Regions from separate parts of the Homo sapiens genome. Here regions 2, 3, 4, 5, 6 and 7 are each linked to region 1. The links are contacts of gene promoters, found by promoter capture Hi-C in blood cells and fetal thymus (Javierre and others, 2016). All regions are on one chromosome and are shown on one strand. The core of a region is centred on a gene start or on the middle of the fragment in contact, and the rest is flanking DNA. Distances in the headings are between cores, read along the strand shown. Region 1 holds the start of IGFBPL1 (insulin like growth factor binding protein like 1). Region 2 overlaps SHB (SH2 domain containing adaptor protein B). Region 3 overlaps SHB (SH2 domain containing adaptor protein B). Region 4 overlaps SHB (SH2 domain containing adaptor protein B). Region 5 overlaps SHB (SH2 domain containing adaptor protein B). Region 6 overlaps SHB (SH2 domain containing adaptor protein B). Region 7 has its middle 39 kb from the start of SHB.

What was found. Contacts are between HindIII fragments. The CHiCAGO score rates a contact against its expected background, and 5 or more counts as called.
Region 2: a fragment that was not itself captured here is called in contact with the fragment with the promoter of IGFBPL1 in region 1 in 13 of 17 cell types (naive B cells, total CD8 T cells, naive CD8 T cells and 10 more); the score reaches 22.0 in naive B cells.
Region 3: a contact is called between a fragment that was not itself captured here and the fragment with the promoter of IGFBPL1 in region 1, in 6 of 17 cell types (naive B cells, activated CD4 T cells, naive CD4 T cells and 3 more). The highest score is 8.9, in naive B cells.
Region 4: a fragment that was not itself captured here is called in contact with the fragment with the promoter of IGFBPL1 in region 1 in 1 of 17 cell types (total B cells); the score reaches 5.0 in total B cells.
Region 5: a contact is called between a fragment that was not itself captured here and the fragment with the promoter of IGFBPL1 in region 1, in 1 of 17 cell types (total CD8 T cells). The highest score is 6.8, in total CD8 T cells.
Region 6: a fragment that was not itself captured here is called in contact with the fragment with the promoter of IGFBPL1 in region 1 in 2 of 17 cell types (naive B cells and total CD8 T cells); the score reaches 5.7 in naive B cells.
Region 7: a contact is called between a fragment that was not itself captured here and the fragment with the promoter of IGFBPL1 in region 1, in 1 of 17 cell types (naive CD4 T cells). The highest score is 5.2, in naive CD4 T cells.

The regions. Positions count from the first base shown.
Region 1 is chr9:38,423,097-38,425,919 of GRCh38, reverse strand. It overlaps IGFBPL1 (insulin like growth factor binding protein like 1), which reads left to right and starts at 1,466. Exons shown (of 5, transcript NM_001007563.3): 1 at 1,466-1,955. The coding sequence starts at 1,496. It overlaps LOC105376041 (a long non-coding RNA gene), which reads right to left and starts at 1,309. Exons shown (of 8, transcript XR_007061487.1): 1 at 1,170-1,309. RefSeq lists an enhancer at 1-421. The HindIII fragment of the contact is 4,043 bases long and covers 1-2,683 here.
Region 2 is chr9:37,921,822-37,924,644 of GRCh38, reverse strand. The region is part of intron 5 of SHB (SH2 domain containing adaptor protein B); the gene reads left to right. Among named protein-coding and RNA genes, the nearest start is that of SLC25A51, 19 kb to the right of the region's middle. RefSeq lists enhancers at 1,039-1,333, 834-1,445, 2,192-2,291. The HindIII fragment of the contact is 3,831 bases long and covers 1-2,823 here.
Region 3 is chr9:37,938,560-37,941,382 of GRCh38, reverse strand. The region is part of intron 5 of SHB (SH2 domain containing adaptor protein B); the gene reads left to right. Among named protein-coding and RNA genes, the nearest start is that of SLC25A51, 36 kb to the right of the region's middle. The HindIII fragment of the contact is 1,413 bases long and covers 706-2,118 here.
Region 4 is chr9:37,957,378-37,960,200 of GRCh38, reverse strand. The region is part of intron 3 of SHB (SH2 domain containing adaptor protein B); the gene reads left to right. Among named protein-coding and RNA genes, the nearest start is that of SLC25A51, 55 kb to the right of the region's middle. The HindIII fragment of the contact is 725 bases long and covers 1,030-1,754 here.
Region 5 is chr9:37,979,848-37,982,670 of GRCh38, reverse strand. The region is part of intron 2 of SHB (SH2 domain containing adaptor protein B); the gene reads left to right. Among named protein-coding and RNA genes, the nearest start is that of SLC25A51, 77 kb to the right of the region's middle. The HindIII fragment of the contact is 257 bases long and covers 1,290-1,546 here.
Region 6 is chr9:38,003,841-38,006,663 of GRCh38, reverse strand. The region is part of intron 2 of SHB (SH2 domain containing adaptor protein B); the gene reads left to right. Among named protein-coding and RNA genes, the nearest start is that of SHB, 64 kb to the left of the region's middle. The HindIII fragment of the contact is 5,190 bases long and covers 1-2,823 here.
Region 7 is chr9:38,106,589-38,109,411 of GRCh38, reverse strand. No RefSeq gene overlaps it. Among named protein-coding and RNA genes, the nearest start is that of SHB, 39 kb to the right of the region's middle. RefSeq lists an enhancer at 1,422-1,601. The HindIII fragment of the contact is 2,334 bases long and covers 246-2,579 here.

The sequences.
Region 1 (2,823 bases), core at 217-2,716:
TGCTCTGTGTGGCTGATTGTAAGGTAAGGCCTGGCGTGGACCAGGCAGATGGCCCTCCTCTGACCACCACATAAAGTGGCCTCAGAAGAGGCTCCTTTCTGGGGATAAGAAGACTGCAAACTGGGAAGGAACTGGGCTTGAAAAGCAAAATGAACCCCACCCAAGAACGGTGTAGCTGGTCTTCCCAGGCTGCAAGAGGCTTTCTCCATCTCCAGGAGTTCAGCAAAGAAAAAACAATAGAGCACAAGACACATGAGGGGTGGCCAGTAAAGGCAGGAAAAGTCTCCTATAAAACCTGCTCAGCGAGTCCCTCCCTCCATCCAGTGCATTTACCCAGCAACACATCAAATCCCAGCAGCCAAGACTCTCTTAGGTTTCTCGTCTGGGTGCCCTGCCAGAACTCAGGCAGGATGGTGTGCACAGAGCCTGGCCCAGAGAAGGCGCAACGGCGGCATGAATAACTGACTACAAGAAACTGCATCTTTCCAACATGCATTCCCCAGTAAGCCACAGGTACACTGACCCTTGTGCACCAAGACTTCATCAAAGCATTATTCGTATTAACCAAAGGATGGAAAATAAGTGGTTAAATAACTGCAACTAAACCCTGTGGAAAGGCCACTCTGTATGAACTCCAAAATATATCACCATATCTCATCACAACAAAGTCACTGTGGACGGAGATGTACCATGACTTTATGCAGCATTAAGAAACACACTCACAGAGCCAATGAACTATGCTCCCATTGATTGTATAAGAAACCCAGTTTCACAGATGACAAGAGGTGGGGAAACTGTGAAACACTGTAAGTGCAAAAACCAAGTGCAGACTAATGTGTATGGCACGCTACTCTGTGTGTGTGAGAGAGAAACAGAGTGTGTGTGTTTTAAAGGAAGGGGCTTTTTTAGGCACATGTACTTTTATAGGCATAGAGAAAATTTCTGAAAAGATATACAAAAACCCGATAGCAAGAGTGGCCTCTGGAAGCCGAGTTGGAGGATGGGGATACAAGGTGGTAGGGTAACCCTCTTTTCATCCTTAGATGTATATGTAAAATCTACATTTTAAACCATATATTCTCTTTATAAAATAAAACTTTGAAAACTACTGAATGCAAAATAAAATTAAATAAAATAGCGCATCCTTCTGGGAGGATTTACGGGCATACTATCTGGAGCCAGCCTTGGATCCGGAGACCGTACGGTTATCCAATCCTGACTCTGCCATAGCGACCTCGGGCAAGTTGTCGCCCCGACTGGGTCTCGGTTCCCTCAAGAGTCCAATCGGAGGTCGGAGAGCTGCTCTCGGGGCGACCCTCCAGCTCGGAGACCCGGGCCGCGGGCACCGCGCGGGTCCCGGGCTGGAGCAGCGGTCTGCGGGCGCCCCGCGGTGCAGGCCCGGCCAATCAGCGGCCGCGGGGCGGGAGCGGTGACTGCTCGGCGGGCGCGGAGCGGAGCGCGAAGCAGAGGCGCCGCCGCTGTCCCGGAGCAAGCCATGCCGCGCTTGTCTCTGCTCTTGCCGCTGCTGCTTCTGCTGCTGCTGCCGCTGCTGCCGCCGCTGTCCCCGAGCCTTGGGATCCGCGACGTGGGCGGCCGGCGCCCCAAGTGTGGTCCGTGCCGGCCAGAGGGCTGCCCGGCGCCTGCGCCCTGCCCGGCGCCCGGGATCTCGGCGCTCGACGAGTGCGGCTGCTGCGCCCGCTGCCTGGGAGCCGAGGGCGCGAGCTGCGGGGGCCGCGCCGGCGGGCGCTGTGGCCCCGGCCTGGTATGCGCGAGCCAGGCCGCTGGGGCAGCGCCCGAGGGCACCGGGCTCTGCGTGTGCGCGCAGCGCGGCACCGTCTGCGGCTCCGACGGTCGCTCGTACCCCAGCGTCTGCGCGCTGCGCCTGCGCGCTCGGCACACGCCCCGCGCGCACCCCGGTCACCTGCACAAGGCGCGCGACGGCCCTTGCGAGTTCGGTGAGTCAGGGTCGGGGATTGGGTGGGTAGAGAAGGAGGGATTCCAACCCTCTGGGGTGTGGAGCGAAGGATCCCCCTGCCCAGTGGTGGACGGCGCTGCCTGGCACTCAGTTTCCCCTTAGGGAGCAGTATTTCATATCTCTCCTCGTGCTCAGAGAGACTGGGGCGAGAATCCTTGGAGACGCCACTCACTGTGCTAGTCGAATTTTTGGTGAGCCTGCTACCCCTTTTGGTACTTAAGTACCTGCTGATGCAGTCACTTATTTGTAGGCATGGTATGTTTGCCCAGCAGGAGACTGGGAGTTAAGGAGGGGGATCCGAGTTCCCAGGTATCCAGCGCTAGGTGGATTGTTTGAATGGGGAGGAAGGGAAGTTGAGGTTGGGGGAGGAAGGGAAGTAGAGGATAGGGGAGGAAGGGAAGTTGAGGATGCAGGAGGAGGATGAGTTCCAGACTGGGGAATCAGTAGTCACCAGGCCACAGCACCAGAGCACCAGGGCCCCCGGTGTGGGAAGGGGCTGAGCTGGGATGCTGAGGGAGCTCCATCCAGGAGAAGTAAGACCTTTGGAGACGTAAGGTCTGAAAAGATTGTGGTGCTATTAGGGGCAGACTCAGGTTTCGTGCTTCTAAAACATATATAATTTGGAGAGTCCTGCCTTAAGTAAAGGAATAGAACTGCTAGGGACTTAGAAACTTATTATGAAATGCTAGGGACTTAGAAACTTAAGCTTCATTAACATCACAGTAAAATAATCTCTGAGTGCTATAGTTGCCCACCCTCTTTATGTACCTTTTGAAAACCAAACAAAAAGAAACCAAAACGTTAGCACTGCTTTACCGGCTTCCTAAGCATGAGTGTATTCCACCCAC
Region 2 (2,823 bases), core at 95-2,594, 500 kb after region 1:
GATGGTTTTGACCTGAGGGCTAATGTTCTGGGGACATCTGGGTCAGGACAGCAGCTCCCCATGCACCTTTCAAGCTAAGGTAAACCAGAAATCCCCTCTGTGTCTGGAGTCCTGTAACTGGGTCCCACACATTAGTCCCAAAGGCCAATTTCCATCCTTCTCCTGCATAAATATTATATGCAAGTATTTTTAAGTCATTTCATCATGAAAAGAAGCGATTTAACATAACTATTACCCAGGATTCTTCATGAAATATGCATCAAGCAATTAGGTCTAAAAGCGAGAGGTGAGGCCTCGCACCCTGCTCGGCGGCCGGCAGCTGCAGGCTGAGTAATGTTTTATTAAAGCCCGTGATTGCGCTGCAAGGTGGGGCCTGTTATTAGCCCTGCGTGCCCGGCACATTTGATAATCCTGATGATGAGGAGGTGCTTTTTGTGATGATAATGAGCGATCTGAACGCCTGTGACAGCTCCAGCACCCCGGCCTCTGCCAGCCTTACAAGACTCATTAGACAGGTCACCCACCAGAGACACCTCTCATTGTGACTTTGCCCTCGCAAGATGTCCTATCAAAGGAGATGTGGCTGATGCAGGAGCTTGGCAGGCATAGCAGCCTGTTGAAGCTCCCCGGGGGCAATGCCCTCCCTGAACGACGATGGTGCTGATGACGGTGCCGAGGTGTGGAAGCCCATGCTGCCTTGAAGAAGGGTGGGAGGAGATGTGGCTCGGAGCCCGGCTCAGCTGGCTCGGGATGCGGGGCCGGGGCTCTGGGTTCACCTGCAGCCTGCCTTGCTGTGCGCCTTGGGCCAGGGTAGTGTACTCTCTGGCCTCAGTTTCCTCCACGGTACCCCAGGGGAGTGAGAGGTGACCCCCAGGCTGCTTGCAGCTCAGAATACATGCTGCCTGGAGCAGCCATACTCCTTGCCTGATGAACCCCTCTGTTCTCCACAGAAGTGCTCATGCTTCCTTTGCTCATGCTCGCGTCTCCTTTTGTGTGAAGGTGGGAGTCACTGAAGCCACTCCTGGCAGCTGCTTTTAAATCTTCAACTGTTAGATGGCATCTCCCTCATGGGGACCTTAACCAATGAGAATGTATTGTCACAGCATGTCTCCTGGCTGTGTGTGGACAAGGCGTCACCTGACCCTTGCATTGGTCGAGGATTGGCAGATAGTCTCGGGACCTCGGACCCCTGGGGGGGCGGTCACCACCCTGCCTCTCAGGCTGGGGGGCTCCACCAATCAGAACATGCCATTTCCAATCCTCGGCACAGCCCCTTGTGTGGGTGCCACACATTGTCTTTTACTCCCAGCCCCTCTGCTGTCTCTGACCTGCCGTCAGCCCTGCACCATGGGCGCTGTGGAGGCGGAAGATCAGCGTGGAGGGGATGTTTGCTCAGAGTCTGACGCCTCTCATCCGCCCCCTCTGCCTGGCTTCACATGGAACACTGAGGGTTACATGAGGCCCTCTCTCAGGTCTGGGGAGTGCTGAGGTCAGGAGCACTGACTCTGGGCATCTGCTGCTGATAATCACTGTGTGACTTTGGGCCAGACACCTCCCCTTTCTGCACCTCGGTGCTTCAGGACATAGAGCCTGGCCTACAGGAAGGATTGTCCCTGAAGGCAATCCTGGCCAATGCCCCAGTGAAAGCAGGACTGGGGATGAGGGCAGCGGTGGAGGGAAGGTGTGAGGCTGCTTGCAGACCCCTTCCTGCAGGAAGCCCTCAGCGGGTAGGCAGCAGATTATGTTTTGCACATGTGGAATCCAGGATCTAGGGCTGGAAGTACCCCCCAGGGTCATCTAGTCAGCCTCCCTGTGGATGCAGCAGGAGAAGGGACAGAGCCCAGCAAGGCACAAGGATAGCCTGAGGGCCAGGGAACCCACGGGGTGCAGTGCTTGAGCCCAGGAGGGTCAGCATGTGAACGCGCCTTTCTCCCTCTGCCTGAGAATGGTCAGGCCACAGACTAGAGGTTCATGGAGCCCAAGTGCTGGTCCCAGCTCTGCCTTGGTCTCTGAGCTTCATGACCAGTCTGCCCCATCGGCACAGCCTGGCTCAGGGTGGTAAACTCGTGGGTGCTTACACAGGCGAGATAGGAGTGTGTTGGGGGTGATAAACAGCAGGCTCAGACAGGCAGGAGGGACTTCCCGGGGACGTCTAGACTCTCTTCAGCCTGGCAGCTGCCCCACCTCGCTATCTGTCGGCAGCCAAGGTACAGAGGACATTGTGTGGCTTTTAGTACTTGGTGGCCATTCTAAGCCCCTAACCTGGGAACAGAGGAGCTTAGCTTCTGCTTCGGACTCTGTCAGAGCCATTGCTGCTATCACTGTCCACTTCCCTTGCCAGATGCCGTAGAACAAATTCATATGAAATGTTGCCTTCACCCATGTGAGTTACTCTCCTAACCTTGAAAATGAAACTGGCTTGTTCCCCTGCAGCTTCATACCTGCACACTGGCAGACTCAGTTCCCGCCAGCGGCTGTGACCCTCTGCCTGACACCTCCTCCACTCTGTCCCCCAGGTATAGATCTGTGAGAATCACAAAGCCTGCTGGTCCAGCACCCCAAAAACGTAAGGCCACTCAGTGCATGCACGCAGAGGGGAATGATGTGCCCAGGGTCATACCCTCCTCCCTGCTGAGTGTCCCTGGCACCTGCAGCCCCTCCTTACCAGCCCTGCTCTCTCGCCCTTCCACACCCCTTCTCCAGGCAAAGCTGGGCATGTGGCTCTGAGAGCTCAGCTTTTTAACTCTTCTGCTGTTTTCTCAGCCACACAGTTTCAGCGCATTACTTAAGCAATCACAGCCCTTTCCAAACTGGCACAGATCT
Region 3 (2,823 bases), core at 163-2,662, 480 kb after region 1:
GGTTTTCTCATCTATAAAATGGGTTTCACAGGTGTATTAATGAAGACACAATATATGTGAAGTGCTTAGCATATGCTCCAGCATATAGTGAGTGCTCTATCAGTGGTAGCTCAAATGTCTTTATTATGGACCTCAGAGAGCCACGGGTTGTTGGGGAAAGAGCTCGGTGTGTCCCAGTGCATTGCAAATTGTCTGGGTTCAACCTGGAAGTCTCCATCTGTGCCCACATCCACTGTCCTTTACGATGATGGGTTCTAGATTTTATTGGCTACAGCTGGAAAGAATGCTAGAGAATCTCACAGAACTGGAGTCCAATCCAGGCTCCCCTCTTCCTGGATAACCTGTCTTGAACCTCTCACCTCTCTTGCACTCTGTACGTTGTGCTTTGGTGTGACCTTGGATGAATGAGTGAACTTCTCTGACCTCCTAGTTGCTCATCAGGAGCTGGAGATGATGACCACTCAACAGGTATCCTTTTTCATCACCATGCTGCTGCCCCTCCAGCTCTCCTGCCCATCTTCCGAACTTGTGGTCTGGCCTCCTCATCTCATAGGGAAGCATGTTGGCAGCCAGTCAAGGTAGCAGCTCCAGGAATACCCTAAGCAGAAATCTTGGGGTTTAGGGAACAGAAAGAGACTTTTTCAATTTTCTGGTCCAATATCTTGAACAAGTGGAGATACTGAGGCCCAGAAAGAGGAAGAAGCTTGCCTGCCTCTGGCTTTCCCAGCAGGCAAGCTGTTTGCTAGCAGCATTTGAGCCAGCCTGAGTCAGGGCAGCAGGGGTGGTGGGGGAAGAGGGGGTCTGTCTCTTTGCTCTTATCGCATGGAGGATTTCATGTCCTTTCAGGGCTCATGGAGGAAAAATGAACTTTCTGCTCAATTAGCGTGCTTCGTGTTTTCTCCTTCTAAAAGGTTTAAAAGAAATGCCACAATTAGAAGCCACTGCTGTAGGCAAAACAGAGACTCCTCAAACACTCTTTGCAGAGGACTAAATGAGAACAGTGAACTTTAGAATGTGCAGATGCCTTGCAGGATAAGAGAGTGCACCATTGAGGGGACACTGTGAGGAATATTAGATGACATTTCCCTTTATTCAGAATTACTGAGAAAATGTGCCCTGCTGGTGGTAAAACATTGCCAAGGACGCCACCCTCAACATTAGACTGGCACCTCTTCTGGACTCTGAGCCTGGTGCTTTGGTGATTCTGGTGCAGTGGGGGTGGAGAGTGTAGGAACAGCCCTGGGCCTATGCCCAGGAGACCTGGGTTCAAATCCTAGCTCTGCCTCTGACAAGTTACGGGATCCCAAACTAGTCACCATGATTTGCACCCTTCCTTTCTGAAGGGTTCAGACAGACCCTAGTTTGAGTTCTGCATATTCTCTGAGCCCTCTGTTTACTCTCTAGCACAGCAAGTGTAAATCCTGCCCCGCCACCTGCTCTGGGCTGCTGTAACATGTGAGTGAGGTGATACGGGTCAGCATGCCCAGCACAGGGCCTGATATTTGGGAATAGCCAGCTTTCACACTGTGATAGTATGTTCAAGAAGAGTAGCAACCATTGCCATCATTTTTACAGATAAAGAAACTGGTGTTCACATTACGTCACAGTTAATGAGTAAAGAGATGAGATTGCAACACAGCTCGAGGCCTCTTTCTACCTTGTGGGGTCTCTCGGAATAGAAACACCCCCATTCCTCCCTAGCAGGCCCTGAGAAGCCCAGCCAATGGCCAACTAGTTCTCTGGACCAAAGCTGGATTTTCTGACAGGACCTGTGACCATGAGCCCTGTGCCCAGCATTTCTCAGACCCCTTTCCCCAGGCAGTGGTGACATGGAGAAAGCCCAGAGACCTGAAACCAGAGGGGCTGGTTCTGAGCCAACAGTGTCAGCATCCATGACCCAAATAGAAGAGTCTAGTTTCTTCTCTGGGTCCAGCCCTCAAGGAGCTGTGAAGAAAGCGCAACTCATTGCTCCTACTTTACAGAAGAGGAAACAGAGGCTCAAAGGGGCTTAACCTGTCTTAAGGCCGTGTTGTCAGGGAGGGGCAGAGGCTGAGCCTGCCCAGCTCCTGGACCACTGTTCTTTCCTGACCCTTCTCAGCCATTTGCTCCAGCTAAGCTTAGAAGTTCTCCATTTGCACTCAGGTGCTAGGCTGATGATGCTGAGACTATCTGGTAGCAAACTAGGAGGCCAAGGCCAATTCAGAGGGGCCAGTGGCAGGCGGCCTACATACCTGATGAGAGAGAAGTTTAGGAAGCCCTATCTGGCCCTGGGTGTGTGATATAGATCAGGAGAGAAGGACTAGGGCAGTGGGAGTAGAAAGGAGAGGTGTGTGGAGGTAGAATTGATGAGAGGGAGGAGGAGTGAGGAGTCAAGGACCACATCCAGATTTCGGAGCAGCTGGGTGGATAGTGGCTCTCCCGGCTGCAACGTAGACCTGGAAAAGACCAGGAAAACAGACTCCCTGCAGCTCAGCTTCCCCCTTCCCAATGCTGCCTAAAACGCAGAGGCAAGAGGTGCCTGCTCTCATTCTGCCTCACTCTGCCAGTTCACGGCCCAGTGCACCACCCCCCAACCCGGCAGTGCCAGACGTGCCCGTCAACAGGCTGGGGTTCCCTCCCTGGACTGCTGCGTCTCCCGTCTGAGCCAGGGATGGAGCAGTGCCCTTTGTTTTACCGGAGCTCCTTGGTCTTCTCCAGCATCTGAGCAGCCGCGATTACATTTCCAGCCGGTTTTTAATTGTCTCGTATCAGCCCACATAAATCTGCCTGTGCGGCTCCGCCACCAGGGAAGCATTCCAACTGCCCGTCTGTCTCCAGGAAACC
Region 4 (2,823 bases), core at 143-2,642, 470 kb after region 1:
ACTGCACTTGGAGTTTGTATATTTGTATTTTAGGTGAAATGATTTGCCTAATTAAGCCTGTCACTCATCACCACCTGTTCTCTCTAAGATATATGGCTATATTATTAAGCTTGCCAGCAAATGTGTAAATTATTTCAGTGGGGAATTACATTGTTGACTAGGACGTTACTAGTTTTTATCCAATTTATCTGGTATGAAACCGATTTTTTTTTCCCAATAAAGCTAAACAGCAGTTCATTAAGTTTCTTCATTTAATCACTTATTGAGCACCTGTTATGTTGCCGGTAATGGGCTAGGTATGGGGGAAGGGGCACATGATACAGCCCCTACCCTCAGGGGGCTCACCGGGAGCCAGGGTAGGACATGCAGTTAGGGTGCTAAGATCAAGGTGAGTCTTGGGAGAGGTGAGGTCCAGGAAGGCTTCCTGAAATAGGTGACCTCTGGAGGGTAAGTGGTATTAGTGAGGTGAAGAGATTGGTGGACCTGAGGCTGGACAAGCAGCCGGGTCCTAGAGAGCCTTTTGGGTTGTGCCGAAAAGCTTGGGCTCCCTCCACAATCATGTTCTGTGCTCCATGCCTCTCTGCTCACCTTCTGTGTCGGGATGTCGATTGTAGAGATTTATATTGGCAGAAATCCCCCAATCCTGATTTTAGCCAGTGGAGCCCCAGGATGTCAGGAGTGAAAGTGACTTATAATTCATCTGGTCCCTCGGTCTCCTGAGCCTGTGGCAAAACTAAGCCTAGAACCTCACTTCCAGCTTAGTCCCCTTCCTATGCCAGGGCAAGCCGCAGCCCTTCAACGCTGGCAGCCCTATGGGCCAGGATGCCTGCTGAGTTGTATCCTCTCTATTCCTGACAACCAGAAAATTAGCAGCAGGGAGGCATCATGGAGAAGTGCAGGCTAGTCCCATGCTCCCTGACCACATCCCCTTCTGTGCCCATCCCAATGGGGGCATCACCCTCCCCCAAGCCAGAAATCTGGGCATCACACAGCAGTTATCCCGGACTCACTCCCACAAGTAGTCAAGCTTCTACATCCCTCCCGTCATTGAGGGGGTCAGCCTCCATCACCTTTCCCTGACTGGTCTTCCCGTCTTCAGGATTGACCCCAAACCCACCCTCCACCAGCACTCAGAGAGGTCTCTAAAGCCCATTCTCTGATTATCCCCATCTATAAGTTCAAGTCCAAGCTCTTTAGAAAGGGGCTCCAGGATGACATGGCCCCAATTTGTCTGTCTAGCCCCAGTGCTCTCCCCTGCCCAAGGTCACCCATGGAGGGCTCTGCAAAGTAGGGGCTCGGGTAAGAACCTGCTTCACCTCTTTCTCTCCTTCTCCCAACCCCCTGTCCAAGACCATATGTCCCATGATTGGTTGCCATCAGGGTGCCGTCATTCAGCCAGAACCCCACTGGGAGATCCAGGCTACTGGAAGGCCAGCGAGGGGTAGATGCTGGTGGTGATGTGTGTGCTAGGGCCCCAGCTCCAGGTTTTAGGCCACTATCACAAAAGCCCCCTTATTAGCTGATGGGAAAGGGCCTTCTCACTCTCCAGCCCCAGGACCTGTCCCCTGGGAAGGCCTTGAGGTCATTGCTGTCTGTGTGTAGTTGGACACAGGAAAGAACTGTGGCCAGAAGGAAGGGCAGGAACCCCCAGCGAGTCCTCACTCTGCCTCCTCTCCACACCACCAGCCCTGGCATCACGGAGCTGTGGGTGTCTCTAGGTTAAGGCATGGCCTCCATGCTGCTTTCTGGAAGCTTAATTAGGGCCTTTGGTGAGTCTTCCTCTCATAGGTAAGGCCAGCCCATCCTTCCAGCGCTTAGGTCAACAGCCTGTGGTCACCAGTAGTCGTCCTTCTCTGATGCTGCACTTCAGCCTGTGGTCACCCGTAGTCCTCCTCTCATGGTGCACTTTGCATGCACAGGCGAGTCCTGCCATCTCTGCCTGCAGAATGTGGCTGGATCTGACCACTGGCGGGCACTGCCTCGCTGCCCTCCTGTGTGCCCGTGTACACATGCTCTCTGTCCCTCTAATTAGCCAGCTATACTTTCTAGAGCAGTTTTAGGTTCACAGCAAAATCAGACAGAGTCCAGAGTGTTCCCATACACCCCTTGCCTCCATCTCTTTTCAGCACAGCAATCCTGTAAGGAAGCGCCCAGTCAGAACGGCTCTCCACGTCTCTCAGAACAAAGCCAGAGTCCTTCCCAAGACTAGGAAGCCCAGCTTCCTTCCCAACTCCCTTCCAGTCACTCTGGATCATTTTGTGTCTCACTCTAGGCACAGTCCCACCCCAGGGCCCTTGAACTTGTTCTTCCTTCTGCCTGGAGTGTCCTTCCTACAGATGTTCCTTCCTCCCTTCAGATATTTATTCAGATGTCACCTTTGGAGAGGGCTTTCCTGCCCTGCTGTATTTTTCTCAGTGGCACTTGTCCCCAGCCACTGATAGGCAGATTGATTTATTGCCTGTCTCTCCTCACGAGGACCCTGCGCTCCATAAGGCAGGTATCTCTGTCTGTTGTGCCCATCACTATTTTCCCAGCCTTGAAGTGTGCCTAGTACATGTGGATAAGTGGTTAGGAGTGTCATCGCGGGTGGACTACCTGTTGGTGTCACTGCTGGGTAGCAGGCTGGCCACACGCTCAGCACAGTCCAGAAAGTGGGTGGGTCCGGTGTCTCTGGAGCCTTCTGTTGGCAAGAGCCTCCCTTCCCACTGTTTTCCAAAGTGGTTGATGGAGAAAGAGTGTCTTAGAGGGACAGAAATGCCCCACAGTCCCTGATAGGGAAGATGGTTCAGTGGCTGAGATGTAGAACAGGTTCATCACGCTCCT
Region 5 (2,823 bases), core at 169-2,668, 440 kb after region 1:
TGTGCCACCACACCTGGCTAATTTTTTTTTTCTTCTGTTTTTAGTAGAGACGGGGTTTCACCATGTTAGCCAGGATAGTTTCAATCTCCTGAACTCATGATCCGCCCGCCTCGGCCTCCCAAAGTGGTGGGATTACAGGTGTGAGCCACTGCACCCGGCCTACTTATCCATTTTTTTTGAGACGGAGTTTTGCTCTTTTGCCCCGGCTGGAGTAAAGTGGCGCAATCTCAGCTCACTGCAACCTCCGCCCCCTGGGTACAAGCAATTCTCCTGCCTCAGCCTTCCCAGTAGCTGGGATTATAGGTGCCCACCACCACACCCCTCTAATTTTTGTATTTTTAGTAGAGACGGGGTTTTACCATGTTGGCCAGGCTGGTCTCGAACTCCTGTCCTCAGGTGATCCACCCCCCTTGGCCTCCCAAAGCGCTAGGAGTACAGGCGTGAGCCACCACATCTGGCCCATCTTCTTTCAAAATACAGATTTTGAGACTCTCCATAATAAAATGTTTAGGCATACTTCATTTTATTGTGCATTGCTTCATTGTGGTTTGCAGGTATTGCATTTTTTTTTTTTTTACAAAATGAAGGTTTGTGGCAACCTTCCTTCAAGTAAGTCTATCAGCATCATTTTTCCAACAGCGTGTGCTCATTTTGTGTCTCTGTGTCACATTTTGGTAATTCTCATATTTCAAACCTTTTTATTATTATAGCTGTTACGGTGACCTGTGATCAGTGATCTTTGATGTTACTGTTGTAATTGTTTTGGGGCACCACAAACTGCACCCACAGAAGATGGCGAACTTAATAAATGTTATGTGTGTTCTGACTGCCCCACTGACTGACCATTCCTTCATCTCTTCCCCTCTCCTTGGGCCTCTCTATTCTGTAAAACACAACAATGTTGAAATCAGGCCTATTAATAATTCAACAATGGCCTCTACATGTTCAAAGGAAAGGGAGAGTCACACATCTCTCACTTTAAACCAAAATCTTGGAAATAAGCCTAGTGCAGAAGTCATGTCAAAAACCGAGATCTGCCAAAAGGTAGGCTTCTTGCACCGAATAGTTAGCCAGGTTGTGGATGTAAAGGAAAAGTTGAAGAAAATTAAAAGTGTCACTCCTGCGAATACACAATTGAAAAGAAAGCAAAACAGCCTTGTTGCTATTAGAGAGAGAGTTTGGTCTAGATAGAAGCTCAAACCAGCCACAAATTCCCTTAAATCAAAGCCTAATCTGGAGCAAGGCCCTAACTCTTCAATTCTGTGAAGGCTGAGAGAGTGGAGGAAGCTTCAGAAAAGCTAACAGAGGTTGATTTCTGAGGTTTAAGGAAAGAAGCCATTTCCATAACATGGAAGTGTGTGGTGAAGCAGCAAGTGCTGATGTAGAAACTGCAGCAAGTTATCCAGAAGATCTAGCTGAGGTCATCGATGAAGGTGGCTATGCAAAACAACAGATTTTCAGTGTAGACAAAGCAGCCTTCTATTGGAAGAAGATGCCATCTAGGACTTTCAGAGCCATAGGGAAGTCAATGCCTGGCTTCAAAGCTTCAAAGGACAGGCTGCCTCTCTTGTTAGGGACTAATGCAGCTGGTGATTGTAAGTTGAAGCCAGTGCTCATTTGCCATTCTGAAAAATCCTGGAGCCCTTAAGAATTATGCTAAATCTACCCTGCTCGTGCCCTGTGAATGGAACAACAAAGCCTGGATGGCAGTTCCTCTGTTTACAGCATGGTTTACTGAATATTTTAAGCCCACTTTTGAGACCAACTTTAAGGAAAAAAAGATTCCTTTAAAGATACTACTGCTGATTGACACTGTTCTTGGTCACCCAAGAGCTCAGCTGGGGATGTACGAGGAGATGAATGTTGTTTTCATGCCTGCTAACACAACATCCATTCCGCGGCCCATGGATCAAGGAGTAATCTCAACTTTGAAGTCTTATTATTTAAGAAATACATCTCATAAGGCTATAGCTGCCAGAGATAGTGATTCCTCTGATGGACCTGGGCAAAGTAAACTGAAAACCTTCTGGGGAAGATTTACTGTTCTAGAAGCCATTAAGTACATTTGTGATTCATGAAAGGGGTCAAAATAGCCACATTAACAGGAGTTTGGAAGAAGAGTCCAGTCCTCACAGATGACTTTGAGGCCTTCAAGACTTCAGTGGAGGAAGTAACTGCAAATATGATGAAAATAACAAGAGAACTAGCATTAGAAGTGGAGTCTGAAGATGTAACTGAATTGCAGGAATCTTATGATCAAACTTGAACAAATAAAGAGTTGCTTCTTATGGATGAGCAAAGACAGTTTTCTTGAGATAGAATCTATTCCTGATGAAGATGCTGGGAACATTGTTAAAATGACAACATAGGATTTAGAATAGTACATAAACTTAGTTGATGAAGCAGCAGCAGAGTTTGAAAAGATTGACTCCAATTTTGAAAGAAGTTCTGCCGTGGGTAAAATGTTATAAAACAGCCTTTCGCTAAGAGAAATCTTTCGTGAAAGGAAGAGTCAATCTATGTGGCAAATTTTATTGTCTCATTTTAAGAAATTCCCACAGCTGGGGGGAGGGGCATAAAAAATTTTCCACAGCCACCTCAGCCTTCAGGAACTACCACCCTGATCAGTCGGCAGCCGGCAACATCAAAGCAAGACCCTCCACCAGCAAAAAGATGACTCACTGAAGGCTTAGATGATTGTAAGCAGTTTTTGGCAATAAAATATTTTTAAAATTAAGGTTCTACATTTTTTTAAGGCAGTGGTATTGCACATTTAATAAACTACAGTATAATATAAATATAACTTTTGTGTGCATTGGAAAA
Region 6 (2,823 bases), core at 98-2,597, 420 kb after region 1:
CATCCCTAACTCCTTGTCTTTCCTGGCAGCTGTGAGAGAAACGTGCATTTTACCCAAGGTAGAAATACAGGAATAGGAATGTGAAATGGAGGAGTTCACCTCCCCAGGCCTGCCTCAGCCTTGCATTTCAGAATCCCAGAGAGACATTAAAAGATCTGAAAGTGCAGAAACTGATGGAGATACCTGTCCTGAAATAGGCTCAGGGAGACTCAGATTAATCTGCAGCAAAGCTCCTGCATCCTGTACCCGCCCAGCTCCCTGCGTGCTGGGCAGGGTGTGGAAACCTTGCGGAAACCCACACTGCAGGGGTGTGGCACGATTAGGAAGTCATTTAGGAAAACAGGCCCGCCTGGGAGTGTGGGATGGAATCTTGCAGCGCCTAGCAAGAGGCAGGGAGACAGGTTCTATGGTTCCGAGGCTATAGCAATCATCTAGGCCAGGTCAGGTGCTGTGGAGTCAGGGTAGGTGTGGTGGAAGGGCCCACCAGCCAGTGGGTGCTGTGTGGAAGGGAGAGGAGAGGGTGGGATGACACCACCAGTGGGGTCCTCTGTTAGTGGGAGGATGGGAAAGTCAGTCACCTGATGGGGCCTGTCCTATCTGAGTAGGGAAGGGAGGTTCCTGGGGAGGAGTCAGAGTTGAGATGTGGTCACCTTTGAGGTGGGAGCAGCCAGCTAGGTGCTTGGGAGAGATTGAATGCATTCATGTGTTAGGGAAGGTGCTGGAGTCAGATCAGAGGAGGGCCCCAAACTATTCCAGGGACCTGGGGGCCACCATGAGAAGTCCTGGCCTGTGTTTCTGGTCTGGGGAGAGGAGTAGTATGCAGGGAGTGGCCAAGGAGACAGCCGGCCACAGTTCCTGCCTTTCAGAAGCCTGAAGGAGGAGATTCCGTGATTTGCCCCACACCCTATTATTTGACTAATTAATTAGTACTCTCCTCTAAGTAGGGCTCAGGCTGGCTTTCTGGAAACTTACAGAGATGACAGCAGTCTGTGTTTAAAGGGTACCTTTTATATATGATACCAGGACTCTCCCTAAGGCTCCGAGAGGAAGCAGATGAGATGATTTCCATTTTGCAGATGAGAAAGCTGAGTCCTGGTGGCTGACAGGACTTCTGGCCCCTTCTCCCTACAGGGATCACTGCCTGGTGATGCAAGGGAGGGATGCTGAGTAACAGCAGGTCTGAGTCCTCCCTTGGTGGCGGCAATGTAGCCGGTGCCTCAGGTTCAGTGCTCTTCCCCATCTCCTGGAGAGTCCTGCCTTCTCCCTTTCAGCCAGCTTGGCCCGTTTGCGTTCCTGTGGTTAGTGAGGGCTGGCTGTGGTCCTTTTCCAAAACAGGCAGCTGAGCAGAAGGAAATAAAATGCCACCTCTTCACTCTCCCTTTCAGGGTATAGGCGTGTAATTGTACCTGGCCACCTTAAAGCACCGAAAGAGGGGCCGTCTCCCAAGCCCAAGCCTCAACTTTTGGGCCTCTCTTTTCCTACTGCCCACGTCACCCCATTCTGTCCATATGCCGTCACAGCCCTCACCATGTCCACTGTGATGTATCTGCTAGACTGGGAACCCCTGGAGGGCAGGATGACAGGACAGGCCGGGGCCAGGGTGTCTTGTGCTCAGACTGTCGGTGCCCTGTGTTTGAGGTTTTGGCCTGGAACTTTCTGGTGAAGAATGTCCCCTCATCCAGAACTTGCTGGTTTTGGTGGAATGATGTGTGCACATGGTGAGTAAACATCCCCCACAAATCTCTCAGCTCCCAGAACTGGGTCTCATGCCTGCTGGGCCGGCTCACCTCTGCCCTGGCCAATGGGGCAGTGTGTATCCTGTCCCTGGCACCTCAGCTGATCTCTCACTTGCTGGCCTGTGGCCGTGTTCCTTCCCATCTGCTAAGCCTCGAGTCTCTGCGTGGACGCTGGCACATGCACTCATGTGCCCGTGCCCCCAGCCACACAGCCCTCCGTGAAGCTACCCTCTCTGGCAACTCCTCACCAGGTCGGGGGCCTTCCAAGTCTTCATGCTGCCCTAGTGGGCCTCTCTTGGCCCCTGGGTCCCCCTTCCCCACCCTCTGCCCCTCAGGCTGGGTTCTGGAGTCCTCAACTTCCTGAAGTGAATGGCCTTCATCATGCCTGCCTTCAGCTCTAGCCTCTTGCTGCCCAGTTCAGAACACCTCTGGCCTGGTCCCCCCACCTTTGCCAGCACAGCCCTGGGAGGGTGGGCTGGGGGGCGCCCACCTCCTCAGCAGATCTTTATTCACTCAGCTCCACCGCGGCCCTTCCCTTCCGAGTCCCACGCAGCCCCCAGCAGCTCAGGTTCACCTTCCCCAGAAGCCTCTGCATGCTTCAGGCTCCCGATCTGCTGCTTTCCCCAGGTGCCTGTGGCTCAAGGCAGAACCAGGCCAGCTGGCATTCAGTTTTCTGCTCAGGTGGTGTTTACTGAAGCCCTGTGCTCTCATGCCCTTCACAGCATCTCTCCTAAGCCTCCCTAAGGCCCAGGGAGGGAGCGCCTGGGTTGTTTCCATTTTCCAGTAAGAAACCTGGAGCAGAGGCTTCCGCAACAGCTGGGGGCCTGGGAGCACCTCCAGGAACCTGGGAGTTGTGTTCCAAAGCCCAGGCAGGAGCAGGGCAGGCAGTCAATGGGCCGGATGGACCCTGGGCTGAGGGAAGCACATGGGCCTGAGATAGATCCCCCGGGCCAGCTCCTGCCCTCCCCAGTAACAGAAGCAGAGGCCTGGAGCCAGGAGGCCCCCAGCAACAGCCTCACCACCCCACACAATTGGGAACCAGCCGGTGGGCGACAGCATCCTCCCTTCCTTGACCTCTTCTAGGATT
Region 7 (2,823 bases), core at 163-2,662, 320 kb after region 1:
AATCCTGTCTCAAAAAAAAGGGGGGGGTGGGGGTGGAGGGGGGAATGCCAAGATTAAGATCAAGACCTCTGCTTCTGAGTATAGCCAAGAGAAAGAGCTCAGCCAGGCCCTCAACATCAGTGCCAGCAACAGCCCCTCTTGCTCACCACATTTTACACACACTTGCTTTCTTGCTTGGTCTCTGGGTCATGGCAATCTCCTTCCAACCTCAGGGCCTTCACGCCTGTTCCCTTTGCATGGAAGCTTAGCCCCCTTCTAGCTGGGCATCTACTTATTCTCTGTCAAGTTTCAGCTCCATAATGGGCTGGTTAGGTCCCTCCCCATAGCTCTATTCTCTTCCTTGTACCATTACCACAATTGTCATTCTGCATTTGTGTGAACATTTGTTTTACGCCCACCTCTCCTGCTTCACTGTAATCTCCAGAAAACCAGGTCTGTCTTGTTTATGGCCGGTACCCGGCACCAGCCGCAGAGCTTGGCATAACCGTGGGCTGAATAAATGAGGTGAGATCAATTACATGGAAAGGACCTAATGCTTAGTAGGTATTTTTCCACCATTTTTCCCCTTCCTCAGATCTCAGAGCTGATCCACCTCCCTGTGTTCAAGCTGATGATCTGATTGTGGCATCAGACTTTTAGAGCTGACCGAAGCCAAGAGAGGCTACGTGGCAGCACTTAGCTCAGCCTGCTTTGCTGGGGCTGTTTATGGAGGGAAAGCACAGGATTCATTTGGCTCTAATCAGGTTAGGATCAGAGCACAGGGACTAGGAAAGGAATGCTGGGCGTAAGATCCAGACCATGTGACTGGGGTGACCTGGGCACAGTCATGGGGAGGCCACACTAGCAGAGTCAGGTTTTCACACTGTAGCCCAGCTGGGGTACACAGCTTGTTTGCAGTAGAGTAGGGCCCAAAGCCCAGGCTCCTGACTCCTGGCACAGTGCTCCAAAGAGCCAACACATGGTGTTGGAAACAATCCCAGGCTGGGCTCTGTTTTCCCACTGCCCAAATCTCTTCCAGGGAGCAGGTCTTGGTATGGCAGAAGGGAGTGGATAAAGCCTTTTCTACAACTCTTTATCACCAGGGCAGGAGATCCAGAGCTGCTGCTACCTTGGGTCCAGCTCAGTGCAATGACAATATTCCTTACATCTTTACACTGCTTTGTTATCTCCAAAGCATTGTCACTTTTGTTTTTCAGCCTCACAGTAATCCTGTGAGGATAGGCAAGCAGCTGATTAACCTCTTATCACGCATGAGAAAACAGAGGCCCAGAGGGGCGTGTCAACTTGCCCAGACCTTCATAGCTGGTCAGTGGAAGAGCCAAGCCCGGAAGCCAGGCCTCCTGACTCCCAGTCCAGAGTTGGTTCAGTATTTTTCACACACAACTGTGACACTCAAATCCGTGTGGTTTCTTGTAGCACTTTCTAGTCTGTGGCATCTCAGCACTGTTGAGGATTAGACGAACAGCCAGGGGAGGAGATGATGGGGTGATGGCTGTGCTGGCATGGCCTCCCCATGGCTTTGGCTGTGGCTGGGCCCCAGTTTCCGCCACCCTAGTCATGTGGTCCGGATCTCGGGGTTCAATGTTTGTGTCCTAGCCTCTCTGCTCTGATCCTGACTCTGATGAAAGGCAAAACAGATCCTGTGCTCTTCCTCCATAAATAGCCCCAGCAAAGCAGGTAAGACAGCCATGAGAAAGCCTAGGGAGTGTTTTTGACGCAGTTGGAACCAGGGGTTACTGGTACTGAAGAGGAAATGCACTTTCTGGTTAAGAAGACTTTGGACTGTGAAACAAAGACAGAGAAAGAGAGTTCAGAACCACTTAAGAGTCTGATACAGGGCTCATTAAGAACGAAGAATGATACTGGGAAAAGCCCAGCTTGGGGGTTGAGTTCTGACCTCCAGTCTGGTTTTCATGCTGTAACCTTAAGGAAGTCATTATGCGTCTTTGGGCCCTTTTTTTTTTTTTTCTTCTCCTTTTGAGACAAAGTCTCACTCTGTCACCCAGGATAGAGTGCAGTGGCACAATCTTGGCTCACTGCAACCTCCACCTTCCGGGTTCAAGTGATTCTCCCGCTCAGCCTTCTGAGTAGCTGAGATTATAGGCATGCACCACCATGCCTGGCTAATTTTTGTATTTTTAGTAGAGATGGGGTTTCTCCATGTTGACCAGGCTGGTCTTGAACTCCTGACCTCAAGTGATCCACCTGCCTCGGCCTCCCAAAGTGCTGGGATTACAGGTGTGAGCCACTGCACCCGGCCAAAACTGTGAGGGAGGCAGGGAGCCCATCACCCTCCTGGTGGTGGCCGGTCCCCTGCCCCGTCTTTGGGCTTTAATTTCCTTCTTTGTAAAATCGCAAGGGGAAAGGAAGGAATCAAGATATCAAGTGTCCGATTTTCCCACTTTGTCCTGACTGACCTGCACATTCTGTGACAGTGTCCATACATACATTACATGAATGATCACTTGGTAAAAAAATCCAAAGAAAGTAAGTCTTTGTTATATGGGACACCCTAAAATATAGTGTTTACGAGCTCCTTCTCTCTCAGGAGCCAGCCTCCCTGGGTTCAAATCCAAGCTTGCCACTTATTAGCTATGTGACCTTGGGCAAGTTACTAAACCCCTCTGTGTTTCAGTTTCCTCATACTCAATACAAGAATAATATTTGTACCATTGCATAGGGCTGTTATGGATCAAAGAACTTAAGAGAACTATAAGGCACTTAGGATAGAGCCTGACATATGGTAAACACTCATTAAATGTGACTCATCGTTACCTAGCAAAAGCTGATACTCTCCATTCCACTTAAACGAAATTGAATGAT